Linked DNA regions of Homo sapiens: regions 1, 2 and 4 are each linked to region 3. The links are contacts of gene promoters, found by promoter capture Hi-C in blood cells and fetal thymus (Javierre and others, 2016). All regions are on one chromosome and are shown on one strand. Each heading gives the region's core, a stretch centred on a gene start or on the middle of the fragment in contact. The rest is flanking DNA. Distances are from core to core; before and after follow the strand shown. Region 1 overlaps CTNNA2 (catenin alpha 2). Region 2 has its middle 48 kb from the start of REG3G. Region 3 holds the start of MRPL19 (mitochondrial ribosomal protein L19). Region 4 has its middle 27 kb from the start of REG3G.

Region 1 (3,188 bases), core at 262-2,761, 4.2 Mb before region 3:
CTAAAGTGAGGAAAGTACTAAACCTGGAAAACAAGCAGTGTCAGTTTCAAACTCCTTCACAGGACACTTGGGGAAGAGACAATCTGGTTGGGAGGGAGACAGGACCTGTCTTCAAACTGCATTTGCATACCATGCACATTCTTAGATTGCATGATTATTTGGCAGCATCTTTTGGACAGAACATGTTTAAAATACGATAAACTGCTTCAGGCTGTGGTTCCTGGATTCATCAGGGACCACAGTCTATGTCATCTTTTCTCCCTTTATCCCTACCCGCTTTCTGCCATTCGCTCCTCTTTATTCCAGGTGCTCGCTGAGCAATCTTCAGAGACCAACAAAGCAGAAGAAATCTCATATTTAATGTGAAACTAAAAATGGCATTCACAGCATCAGAAGCTGGTTAAGCAATAAGAATTCCCAAATAGACACAATGGAGAAACTTACATTCTTAGTATTCACACTGGACTTGTTAGGTCTCACGTTAAGAATCACTCTTACACCAAGAGGTAATTTAATCTGTTTGGAATTTCTCCTGTCACATAGAATGGCCAGCCTCTCAAGACTGCTTTATGCTTTGGCCAGACCTTCTTTGGAGTCTGTTATGCATTAGGGTTTGGCTATAGGCAAGGGAGAGCAAATGACATTATAATATCAATAGCTACTCTCCAGTGGCATAACAACTTTTCAGTCAGGAGCTTTTTCCCAGGGTTTTTCTAGGGAATAGCTTCACAGCTGAATCTGGATGAAAGATGTCTGGCCAACACGTCTATTAAGATGGGTAGGAGAAGAAGAAAACTAGTATTTATGAGTGCCTACTATAGATTAGACACATATAAATGTTCATCCCACAAAACTACCACCAACTTGGAGTCAACATTATTATCTCATTTTATAGATGAAGAAACAGAGGCACAGAGGGAAGAGTTATTTGGTAAGATTCAAACACAAGCCTGTTCTCTGCCCTATGAGATGCTGTCCCACCATTGTTTAGCATGGCCAATGTAACCAGGTCAAACCACAACCGACTATTTATGTTCTCAGTTATGTTGGGTGCCTGCTAATCATACGTGCATATGAGTAATTGTTTTTCTACAGCCTTAGCTCAATGAATTTATACAATCAGAAAAAAAGACAGTATCAGAGAACATTTGGGGAAATAAAGAATGGGACTCAATAGGTTATAGTGAAGTTTCCATAATATTCTGCTGGAAAAGAAGTTCAGGAAATACGTTGAGCAGTATGGTTGAAAAATCCAAATGGATGCTTCACGTGCAGTTGTTGCACGTGTGTGTGTGTGTTTGTGTGTGGTTTACTTCACCACTGAATCAAACTAAATCTTAGAACATTTAAGTAACTCCCTATCACGTTCCCAGCACTGTAACATAGGAAGCACACGAGAAGTCATAATCCTGGAGGGAGAAGTAAAGATTAGCAGTACTAACATAAGAAATCACACAGAAAGACTAAAGTATTAAATGTATTTAAAGATTAAAAAATCAAACATTTTAAATAAACCACATGTTGCTCTAATAAAGAGTTCACTAGATAAGTGGCCTTATTTGGGTCCGAAATTTGAAAAAGTATAACTAATAGATAAGTGACAATCAAAATTATACTTGCCATCACATGTTAGACAATTTTGAATATCATAATCAATTACATCAGTATTCATTATTATATTTGGTACTAACTTGAAATAAAGGTGAAATCAGACCTAAAGAATCTGTCAATATTCTCAAAAGCAAAAATCAGTCACACTAGGAAGAAAACAGATTCTTACATTTTTCGCTGCCTCAAGAAATAACCCAAGATTGGAAATATAATAATTTTGATTAAACCTGATAGGGGGCCAAAAAATCAAGATATAAATTGCAATTATAAAAAAAAGTACTTCAAATTTCATTCTTTTATTTGCTCAACAATTTTTAGAGATCTTTAGTGATTGAAATGCGCAAGAGAAAAGTAAATTGTTTTGGAATATTTCTTAAAGCAAGTAAAAAAATTGAAAGGTAAATGATTCTATCAGAAAATACTCCTAGATTTATAAAACCTTAGGAAAGAAAAGCTGTTTAGAAGCAATATCAGAGGTATCGATAACCTATACAAGAGGTGTCAATAACCCGGAAAGAGATTTCTGGGCAGAAAAGATGGATTCTGGAAAGTGAAGCGGTATAGCTCAGGAAGCAGTGAAGACTATGTTGTCTACGATGATGCCTAACCTGGTCCCCAAGCACCCAGCAGAACCAGCCTTGACTCACCACCCTACCTTGCACTCCTCTTCCTATAAGCTCACATGTATTGCATCTATCTTTATCACCATCCCAGAGGTAGGGATGGTTTTAAGAATTAGCTGGACTTGCATTGCATAACATTAGTGTTCAGAAGGTTGTCATAGGTAGACTAAACACTTTTTGACGGATGACTACACACTGTCCATATTTGCATCCCTTGGGTTTGAGCCCGTATTACATATATAAATTGTAGTATGTTTACAGGGATCTAAGAACCCACAGGAGTGTTTCTTAATGCTTTGTTTGGCCACCAGATGTCAGTGTAGGATAAAGAATGCTGGAACGCTCCTGCTTGTTTCCAGTTAGAAAGAATTGAAAAGGCAGTTTTGATGAGTTTAATTTGCCATTGAAAAAGAAGAAATAAATTTGGAAGGTACTCCACTGGGAGAAGATACGATGAACAGGTGAGGATTTCTGGTTCCCACTAAGCATCAGTTACTGATACTATGCCCTAAAGATGGAAAAGTTTGTCTCCACTTTTCAAAAAAGTATCAAAAAGTTGTTTTTTTCTTTTTTAAGAAGTAAAAAGAGCATGCTAAGCACATAGTAGGAGCCCAATTAAGCACAAACAGATTAACCTAAGTTAGAAAAATCCTAGACTTTGTAGAATTTTGTTTAAGAATATTCAAAATATATAATATCTGCATAAATGACTAGGGATTTAACAATCATACTGATGGGAACGGAAATGAACTAAGAGCCAAAAAAATCAGTGCAAGAAAGTTATATTATGTAAAAACATCAAATTTTCCAAAAAATGACTGAAATTTCTCAAGATTTCATAATTAGACCTAGAAAATGTTTGGTTTTTTAATTAGCTAAAGCTTACATGACAATACAAAACACTATTTCAATATATGGAAATAAAAAGTACAATTCTCATGACCTGTTGATTCT
Region 2 (3,235 bases), core at 91-2,590, 3.3 Mb before region 3:
TTTTTTCTTCACACAGCTGTAGAGTGTTGGTGAAGTACCTCCTCTCAGAGTCCTTGTCTTTTGGGGTGACACGGCCCTGCCAGCTCACAGGTCCTCGGGTGCCCTTGCCATTTCCCAGGGCGGATATTGCAAAGTCCTGCCAGAGACCACTCAGATGCCTGTGTCACAGTCGCCCAATATGAAGTGTGTGCTCTCCAGAAAAGCAGTATCCTCCAGCACACTCTCGGGTTAATAGAAAGGGTGCTAGGGGAACACAAGGGATCCCAATTCCTCACTGCCTGAGATGATAAAACATCCCTGGGGTGATGCTCAGCAATGCAAAGACATGAATGAATAAGCTGGAAGGAATCTTGGAGTTCCTGGCTATCCTCTTCATTTCAAAGAGAAAGCAACAATGGCAAACCAAAATTATCCACCCCAGACCACCCAGCTCATTATGTGGTAAAGGCAAGACTAGCACTCAAGTCTCCTTGCAACCCAATTAATCTTTTTTCCCATACGTTTACAATGCATTGGTATTAGGCAAAGAAAAGTTCGGCCGGGCACGGTGGCTCACGCCTGTAATCCCAGCACTTTGGGAGGCTGAGGCAGGCAGATCACCTGCAGTCAGGAGTTCGAGACCAGCCTGGCCAAAACGGTGAAACCCTATCTCTACTAAAAATACAAAATTAGCCTGGCTTGGTGGCGGGTGCCTGTAATCCCAGCTACTCAGGACGCTGAGGCAGGAGAATCACTTGAACACCAGAGGCGGAGGTTGCAGTGAGCTGAGATCACGCCACTACACTCCAGCCTGGGTGAGAAAGAGAGACTCCATCTCAAAAAAAAAAAAAAAAGAAAAAAGAAAAAAAAAGTTCTGAACAGGTCAAGGGAAAGGAAATGCTTTTGTTGACTGGTTTCTGTATTCCAGGCACTGTGCTTTTTTCTTTTGTACGCACAGTCCTTCAATCCCCAGCTGCTAGCAGATGTGATTATCTTTTCATATATTCATCACCTGAAGTGCAGAGGGGTTGCATGAGTTGCCTGAATCACTTGGCTAGTAAATGGTGGTAGAAATTTGTGTCTCACACTTGCAGAGAGAAGCAAGAGTCAGTTTTTAGAAGTCTTTAAGCCCTGAGCAGGGAGGAATGTGTAAGGATTAGAGGACCAGCATCAAAGGTTGGCTCCTCCTTTGTCTTTGTAAATACTACTCTGCCTTTCATGTTGTGCTTTCCCCAGTCCCATTTTACATTGGAATCTTCCCACAAAACTTTCTCTGAACAATCCATCTCAAAGTGCTTAATCCTCTGAACAAATGTATTATTTTTGCTTATCAGGCATGTATCATTTACTGCTTTTAAGAAACAATGATCTCTTTGTGTAAAAAATAATATTTTCTTCCAGTTTGATGATAGGTGATTACAACTATTCTGATTGCATGATGGATTAAATATTTAAGAAACCAGTTGGGGTTTACAAAAATAGAATGAATCCCTTCAGGGAACATTGATAATACTCTCTTAAGACTGATATTTTCTAGTTCTCTATGTTGAGAATCTTTTAGAATGGGGATCAGTGCCCTCAACTCTCCACAAGTGTTGAACTAGTGACCTGGTACATTGGTCGGGCTACCCTTGACAGCTGCAGGCATGTGGCTTTTCTGGAGAAATGAAGCAACTGTCAACTTTCCCATAGTCTAGTTTCTATAATTCATGCAGTGTGCACTGTGTAGAAGGTGGATCCTGGGATAGCAAAACCAGAGTGACTTAGATTATATAGGCAGTCATATGTGGACTGGCGTGTTAAAATTCAGTCACCAATGGAGTAGCTTAGAGCTAACTCCTCCCAACAAAGGAATTGCATGTTGAATGGCAACCATCATCACGCACAGTAGAAGTCTCTTTTTGAGGAAGTATTTTTTCTAGGTAAAGAAAGAGGAAGTGGGCCATCGGTGGTTAATTTACTGTGTTGAGTAACACTGAAAGTTTCCTAGTTCCCAAACAGGGTGGACTAGTGAAACTAAGGTGATTTTTCTGCTCATAAGGTCACACTTATGTGTTATACTACATTTCTGGGAATCTTGTCATAAATCTGCATCACAAAAAGTAACCTGTATCTATCTCTCTAAATCCTGAGACTAAGTCATATACTAGGTATTTTATTCCTTGAAATACCAAAATCAGAAAAGGTAGAATGGAAAAATATATAGCTTTAGAATCAGACAGGAGTGAATTTGATTCTTGATACTGGCATACATTAGTCACTTGAGCTTACATATCACATCAGATCTCATTTTTCTGCCTATGTGCAAAGTGAGGATAATAACATCAGCGTTAAAGAGGATTGGATGAGGGAATGTTAAGTTTGTGAAGCATCTAGAGTAGTACATGCCATTTAATAGTTGCTTAATATAAAACAATAACAGTTATATTAACCAATGAGGCAAGGCCACTTGAAAACGGCTTGCCATTGAGAAGAGAGGGAGAAACGGTCCTATTTTTTAATGGCAGGCCAGTTGCTCACTCACTTGTTCTTTCATTCATTCGCTCACGCACTCACACACAGTATTTTACAAAACCTGAGCTAGGTACAGTTATTGAATGACAACGTGGTAATTTCTTAACTTTAAAAATGAATTATATTGAGATATAATTTTATATTATACAAACATATTTTCAAGATAACAAAGATTAGAGAGAATAAATAAAAATGGAAAATAGAGAAACAATAGGGAACATCAACAAAACCAAGAGCTGGTTCTTTGAAAAGATCAACACATTTGATAAACTTTAGCTAGATTGTCTAAGAGGAAAGAAGATTTGAATTACAATCAGGAATGAAAGAGGGGATGATTTTACAGAAATATAAAAATAATCTTAAGAGTGTACTATGAATAATTGTACACCCAAATTGAATAATTTAGATGAAATGGACAAATTCCTAGAAACATACAACCTACTGAGACTGAATCATGAAAAAATAGAAAAGCTAAATAGACATAGACCTAAAACTACTAAAAAGACTGAATTAATAACCAAAACCTTTCAAGAGAGAAAAGTCCAATATTAAATTACTTTACTGGTGAATTCTACCAAATATTTAAGAATTACTACCAATATTTCTCAAACTGTTGCAAAAATTTGAAGAGGAAGAAATGCTTTCTAACTCATTCTATAAAGCTTTTCCTCTAAGAAGCAAGATAAGGATGATTTGCTTTTGACACTTCTTTTCAACATAGTACTGGAAGTCCTAGCCAGAG
Region 3 (3,089 bases), core at 361-2,860:
GGCTGCCTCTAAATTTTGTTACAAAAAATACTGTTACATTCATTCTCGTGCTTGTCTCCTTGTACATACACGTTAGGAGTTTAAGTTGTGTGCTTTCTGAGTGAGAAGGTATACACAACTTAAACTTAGTAAATTCTGTCAAATTGTTCTCTAGAGCATATAATTTACATTCCTATTTAAGTGAATTCTATTAAATGCCACTGTTTAAAAGAGATATTCCATTTCTACCCTCAAAAGCAAAGTTTTATGAAGAAATATTTTCTGAATCTCTTAGTTCTCTAACTCCAAGTTTACTTCTATTTAAATCCGTGGAATATTTTAAATGTTAAAAAAAGAAAAGAAAAAAAAAAGCCAGGCGTGGTACCAGTAGTTCCAGCTACTCTGGAGCCTGAGGCGGGAGGATCACTTGAGCCCAGAAATTTGAGGCTGCAGTGAGCTAAAATCACCACTGCACTCCAGCCTGGGAGACTGAGAGAGACTCTGTCTAAAAAAAATTTAAAAAATAAAAAAATTAAAAATCCCAGAAGTAATCCAATCAATAATCTACAGCCCTTTCAAAAAGCCTATAATCATATCAGGTTTTTCCTCTGAAAACTGGCTTTTTAAAAAGGTTGCTACATAGCTCTCTTTTCAGACCTTAAGTCCTTTAAATTTACATGTACCTCCAAGATTACCACCATTCATATAAGTTTTTATTCACACTATTTTGATGAGTAAGTTTCAGACACAATTTAGTGGCCAGTTTTACTGTGCTTTGTCTGCCAAAACTTCCAACCTAAACCATAGCAAATTTTTTAAGTTGGCCAATCGATTCCTATCCAGGGTTAAGGGTCTTTTGAGAGAAAAGAAGAGCTCTTGGACGTAAACAGGTATAAACAGGATATACCTCAGAGAAAAACTCTGGTACAGGACAAATACCACAGAGAAAAGAGTTTAAAATATGGGGAACCCCTACTTGAAGTTCTGACTCAATAAAACTGCAAAGAAGTTCAATGCTGGCTTGGGGAGAAGTGAGAAAGAAAGAACAGTGTGGTGCGCTGGCTCTTGAATCCTACACACCTGCTCGTGCAGGGGGAGGTGCAGCCCCCACCTTAGAGCCGGGACCTCGAACGCGAACGCGCTCACGCGCGCACCGACCCCAGTTGCCGGCCTAGCGCCAGGGCAGTGCCTCACCTGCGTTCCGGTTCCACGGGGCGGTGCTTGTCCACGATGACCGGTTTCGGCGGCGGTTGGAACGCACCGGGCTCGGAAGGCCCAGTGCTCTGCTGCCGGACAGGCCCCGCGTGGACCCCTGCGGGAGCGGACGACGGAGGTCAGAACTCTCGTGCCAACCCTGAGATCCCGCAGAGCCCCGCAATCTCCCCCAACCCGGCGTCCCACGGGGGACCAACGCTGGGGTTGCCTCTGATCTCCAGGTTCGCCTCCCCCATCCTGACCCTGGGCCCCTAACGCGCCCCAGCTCGCAAGTCCGGCTCCACTTACTGCAGGCGATAGAGGCCGGCGGGGGGAGCAGAGTCCTGGCGGCTTGGAAACTCCGGCCTAGGCCCATTGCAGCCCAGTGCCCCGCTGCAATGCAGGCCGCCATGCCAGCTAGCTCACGTCAAGACTACAGCTCCCAGTAATCAGTGCGACGAGGTTGTTGCTGTCTGCCACCATATGGCGGCTGCTATGGGACAAAATGGATAAGTCTCTCCTCGCTCCTTTCCTGATGTCTTAGGAAAAGTGCACGTTTCTCTAGTTCCTCGTAATGCGCCAAGTTACACCCCTCCACAGGGGTGTTCTCCCAGCCTAGAAAGCTTTTTCCTCCCCCTATGAATCCACTCTATCTTCTCAGACAAGCTTTCGCTATGCGAAAATCCCATTGTAGGCCGTCTTTCCCACTGGGTGCCTTCGATTGGCAGCTCTGATCTCATTTGCAATTCTTTCTTGTGTAATTATTAGATTAGTATTTAAATCTGCCATTATACTATAATGAGGCAAGGGAAGGGATAAAGTCTTCTTTTTGCTCACCATGTTATCCCAGCACCTAGCACCTACCTGGGCCCTCACTAACATCTTTTGTTTTGTTGAGACAAGGTCTTCCTCTGTTACCCAGGCTGGAGTGCAGTGGCGCGATCATGGCTCTGCAGCCTCCAACTCCTGATGTCAGGAGATCCTCTCACCTCAGCCTCCCGAGTAGCCAAGACTACAGTCTCGCACCATCACGCCCAGCTAATTTTTCTAATTCTTTGCTGAATGCACAGAAAAGAGAATAGAATAGTTCCTGACAGAACTGCTGGCCCATAGTCCTTGAGACTACACAAAGCATTAACCCTTTGAGGAACCCAAATGAATTTGGGCTGGGCAACTGTGGGTATGGATAGGTGGGAGAAGTAAAGCTGGAAAAGGTAAATTGTAAGTCTTGTTAAGAAATTTGGAAAATGACTGGGCGTGGCCAGGCATGCCTGTAATCCCAGCACTGTGGGAGGCCGAGACAGGAGGGTCCCTTGAGCTCATGAGTTGGAAACCAGCCTGGGCAATATAGTGAGACCGTATCTCTAAGAAACAAACACACAGCCGGGCGCAGTGGCTCACGCCTTTAACCCCAGCATTTTGGGAGGCCGAGGCGGGCAGATCGCCTGAGGTCAGGAGTTTGAGACTAGCCTGGCCAACATAGTGAAACCCCGTTTCTACCAAAAATAAAAAAAATGATCCAGGTGTGGTGGCAGGCTCCTGTAATCCCAGCTACTTGGGAGGCTAAGGCAGGAGAATCGCTTGAACCTGGGAGACAGAGGTTGCAGTGAGCCGAGATCGCGCCATTGCAACAAGAGCGAAACTCCGTCTCAAAAAAACAGAAAAAGAAACACACACAAAAAAAGAAATTTGGAATTTGTTATTTCAGCAGTGGTTATATAAGGATTGAACACTTAGAGTAATGTGATAATTTAACTACATAATAGTCATTCCAGTTGCATTAATGTCCCAAAGCTACCTCAAATTCAGCCTATCCATACTGAGTTCATCTTTTTCAGCTCCAGACTTCCTTCCCAGTATTGGCTATCTCAAGGAATGGCTTCAGCATCCACTCTCTTGCCTAAGCCAAAAATCTC
Region 4 (2,975 bases), core at 227-2,726, 3.4 Mb before region 3:
TTTCTGACACTGGCTTCCTACTTCTTGCCCTATTTCCCCACACTCTGTGACACAACTGACCCCTGTGTGCTTTGGTGATGACCTGACCCTCGCAGAGATGGAAACCTGCTCAACCTGAGAAGTCCTGTGAAATAACCATTTAAGAATATTAGGCCTGTTGCAGCCAGGAGCCCTGGGTGATGGCACAGGCTGTTCTGCTGTGGATCCTTTTTGTGATCTTGGGCAAGACTTTCAGTCTCTGCTTCCACCTGCTCCCAAGAGAGTCAGAACCTACCTGACCTCCTTCAGAGGGATATTTTGAAAATGGAATGAGATAACATGTAGACTTAAGACAGATCTGGGATTGAGATTTGGGATTATACATGTTTGCCTTCTTTGTAATTTGGTTGGAGATTAAGTCAGTTCAAGTAAAAATGAGAATATAAGAGATTTCTGGAAAAAAAAAAAAAGCCCAGTCCAGATAGAATCCTGCATTTCTCAGAAGTAAACACAAGAGGGTGCTATAAGCCTGTCATAAAGCTTGTGCAGGCCTAGGACTTTACTTTCTGATTTTTTATTTTATTTTTATTTTTTGAGAAGGAGTCTCACTCTGTCACCCAGGCTGGAGTGCAATGGCCTGATATCGGCTCACTGAAGCCTCCGCCTCCCGAGTTCAAGAGATTCTCCTGCCTCAGCCTTCCAAGTAGCTGGGATTACAGGCACATGCCACCAAGCCCGGCTAATTTTTGTATTTTTAGTAGAGACGTGGTTTCACCATGTTGGCCAGGCTGGTCTCGAACTCCTGACCTCAGGTGATCCACCCACCTCAGCCTCCCAAAGTGCTGGGATAACATGTAGACTTAAGACAGATCTGGGATTGAGATTTGGGGTTATACATGTTCACCTTTTTTATAATTTGGTTGGAGATTAAGTCAATTCAAATAAAAAAGAGAATATAAGAGACTTCAGAAAAAAAAAATAGCCCAGTTCAGATAGAATCCTGCATTTCTCAGAAGTAAAAATTAGGGATTACAGGTGTAAGCCACCATAACCCAGCCCTTTTCTGATTTTAATGCTAGCTTAGATTTCTGTGCCACCCTGCTTTACTGATGTTTTCCAAGTAATGATTCACAAGGTCAAGTTTATTAGAGGAGTATCATCTGGACTCAGTCTGATTCTGACCTTGTGCAATACTTCTATGAAGTGGGCTGAAGACTTCTTTCCACTTCTAAATCTGAGATCCCTGTTTTCCTTCATGTACCTGAATCTCTGTCCATCTGATAATTGACAGAAAACTTTGCTGAACAAGGTCTCATGACTTACACAGGACAGGGGAAAGAGAAGGATCCAAGATCTAGAATCAAGCCCTGTGGTGGTGGCAGGTCAGAGATTGGGAGACAGAACAACGGCAGTACTGAGAGATGGTCAGGTTTGGGCAATTGAAGCTGAGGCTGTGCAGTATAGGTCAGACTTTCCTTCCACACAGAGGAACCAAGACAGCAGCAAATGGTCCCAGCTGCCCTGATGGGGGTAGGAGCAAGATGGACTTGGATTCAGGGTGGAGGCACGTCTAGTGTGAACAGGGTGTTGCTATCAATTCTACTTGCTGATGGCATCGGGAATACAGTGATGGCATCAGTAAGTTACAGTGACTTGGCTTCCAATTAGTCTGGGGAGCCTAGCAGGATGATGGCAAGCTCCCATTCTTGGCACGAAATCTGGGTCCAGACAGGTTATCAGAGCAGAAAATAGATCAAGAGGACTGAGCTCACAGAACTGAAGACCAACAAGGTCTGTTGGGCCTCAATTTGAACCCTGGGCTATAATGGCTGAACTTCTGAACCAAGAGAATGTGGAGCTCAGAGCATGGCAACCTACGAGCTGCAAACACAGCCTCCCTCCTTTTATTACGTATTGTCTGTAGCTGCTTTTTTGCTGCCACAGAGTTGAGTAGTTGCAACAGGGACGATATGGCGTGTGGTCTAAAATATTAGTATCTGGCCCTTTATGGAAAAAGTATTCTACCCACTGGTCTAGTCTAGATCTCCCTTTTAGGATGAGGATATTGATTCTCAGAGCAGTGAAGGGGCCAGGACAGAAGAAAACAGAGATGAGGTAGACCTCAGGTCACCTGGAGAGTGCTGTGTCTTTATGCTCCTGCCTCACTCTTGCCTGCTGGACACATCTCATCTCCCACATGCATTTGAATGCCAAGTGTCATGTTTTCCAAGAAAGGAAGTTGGCCCCAACTCTGAAAGCATTTGGGGCTTCTGCAAGTGAGTGAGGAGGATGTGTGTGTGCGCAGCTGTGTGTTTTATCATGCTGCGTACCTGCTCCTGATGTCTATCCCCTTCCCTGTAGTGTAGCCAGTGTCTCTCCTCTTATTCCAAGGTGGCTGTATCTGCCAGGTGTTATTCTCAAGCACCTCAAGCCTGAAGAATAGGGCAAGCTTTCTCTTTATTTTATTGTTTTAAAATGTTTAAATTGTAGTATTTAAGGTGTACAACATAATGTTTTGGTATACATAGACCTAACGAAGTGCTTATCACAGTCAAACAAATTAACATAGCCGTCTTCCCACAGAGTTACCTTTTGGTGTCTGTTGAAAGCACCTGAAATCTACTCTTGGCAAATTTCCATGATTTGTTTTCAACTAGGATGTGTGAACTACCATATCCAAGGAAAGAAGCTGTAGGTGGAGTCAAAACCTTAGGAAGGATTAGAAGATGCAGTGAGGGCTGGCATGGTGCCTCACGGTGTAATCCCAGCACTTTGGGAGGCTGAGGCGGGTGGATCACTTGGGTCCAGGAGTTCAAGACTAGCAGAAAAGTTTGAGACCATGCAAAACCCCATCTCTACAAAAAATACAAAAATAGCCAGGTGTGGTGCCCATGCTCATGATCCCAGCTACTAGGGAGGCTGAGGTAGGAGGATCACCTGAGCCTGGGAGGCAGAGGTTGCAGTGAGTTAAGATCATGCCACAACACTGTAGCCTG

The links. Contacts are between HindIII fragments. The CHiCAGO score rates a contact against its expected background, and 5 or more counts as called.
Region 1: a contact is called between a fragment that was not itself captured here and the fragment with the promoter of MRPL19 in region 3, in 5 of 17 cell types (total CD4 T cells, total B cells, naive B cells and 2 more). The highest score is 9.9, in total CD4 T cells.
Region 2: a fragment that was not itself captured here is called in contact with the fragment with the promoter of MRPL19 in region 3 in 2 of 17 cell types (M2 macrophages and naive B cells); the score reaches 9.3 in M2 macrophages.
Region 4: a contact is called between a fragment that was not itself captured here and the fragment with the promoter of MRPL19 in region 3, in 1 of 17 cell types (M2 macrophages). The highest score is 8.2, in M2 macrophages.

The regions. Positions count from the first base shown.
Region 1 is chr2:79,887,296-79,890,483 of GRCh38, reverse strand. All of the region lies in intron 6 of CTNNA2 (catenin alpha 2), which reads right to left. Among named protein-coding and RNA genes, the nearest start is that of MIR8080, 22 kb to the right of the region's middle. The HindIII fragment of the contact is 3,213 bases long and covers 1-3,117 here.
Region 2 is chr2:78,976,460-78,979,694 of GRCh38, reverse strand. No RefSeq gene overlaps it. Among named protein-coding and RNA genes, the nearest start is that of REG3G, 48 kb to the left of the region's middle. The HindIII fragment of the contact is 3,634 bases long and covers 1-3,157 here.
Region 3 is chr2:75,645,304-75,648,392 of GRCh38, reverse strand. It overlaps MRPL19 (mitochondrial ribosomal protein L19), which reads right to left and starts at 1,610. Exons shown (of 6, transcript NM_014763.4): 1 at 1,483-1,610; 2 at 1,174-1,291. The coding sequence starts at 1,585. RefSeq lists enhancers at 1,381-1,680, 1,516-1,810. The HindIII fragment of the contact is 2,636 bases long and covers 1-1,798 here.
Region 4 is chr2:78,997,137-79,000,111 of GRCh38, reverse strand. No RefSeq gene overlaps it. Among named protein-coding and RNA genes, the nearest start is that of REG3G, 27 kb to the left of the region's middle. The HindIII fragment of the contact is 1,909 bases long and covers 522-2,430 here.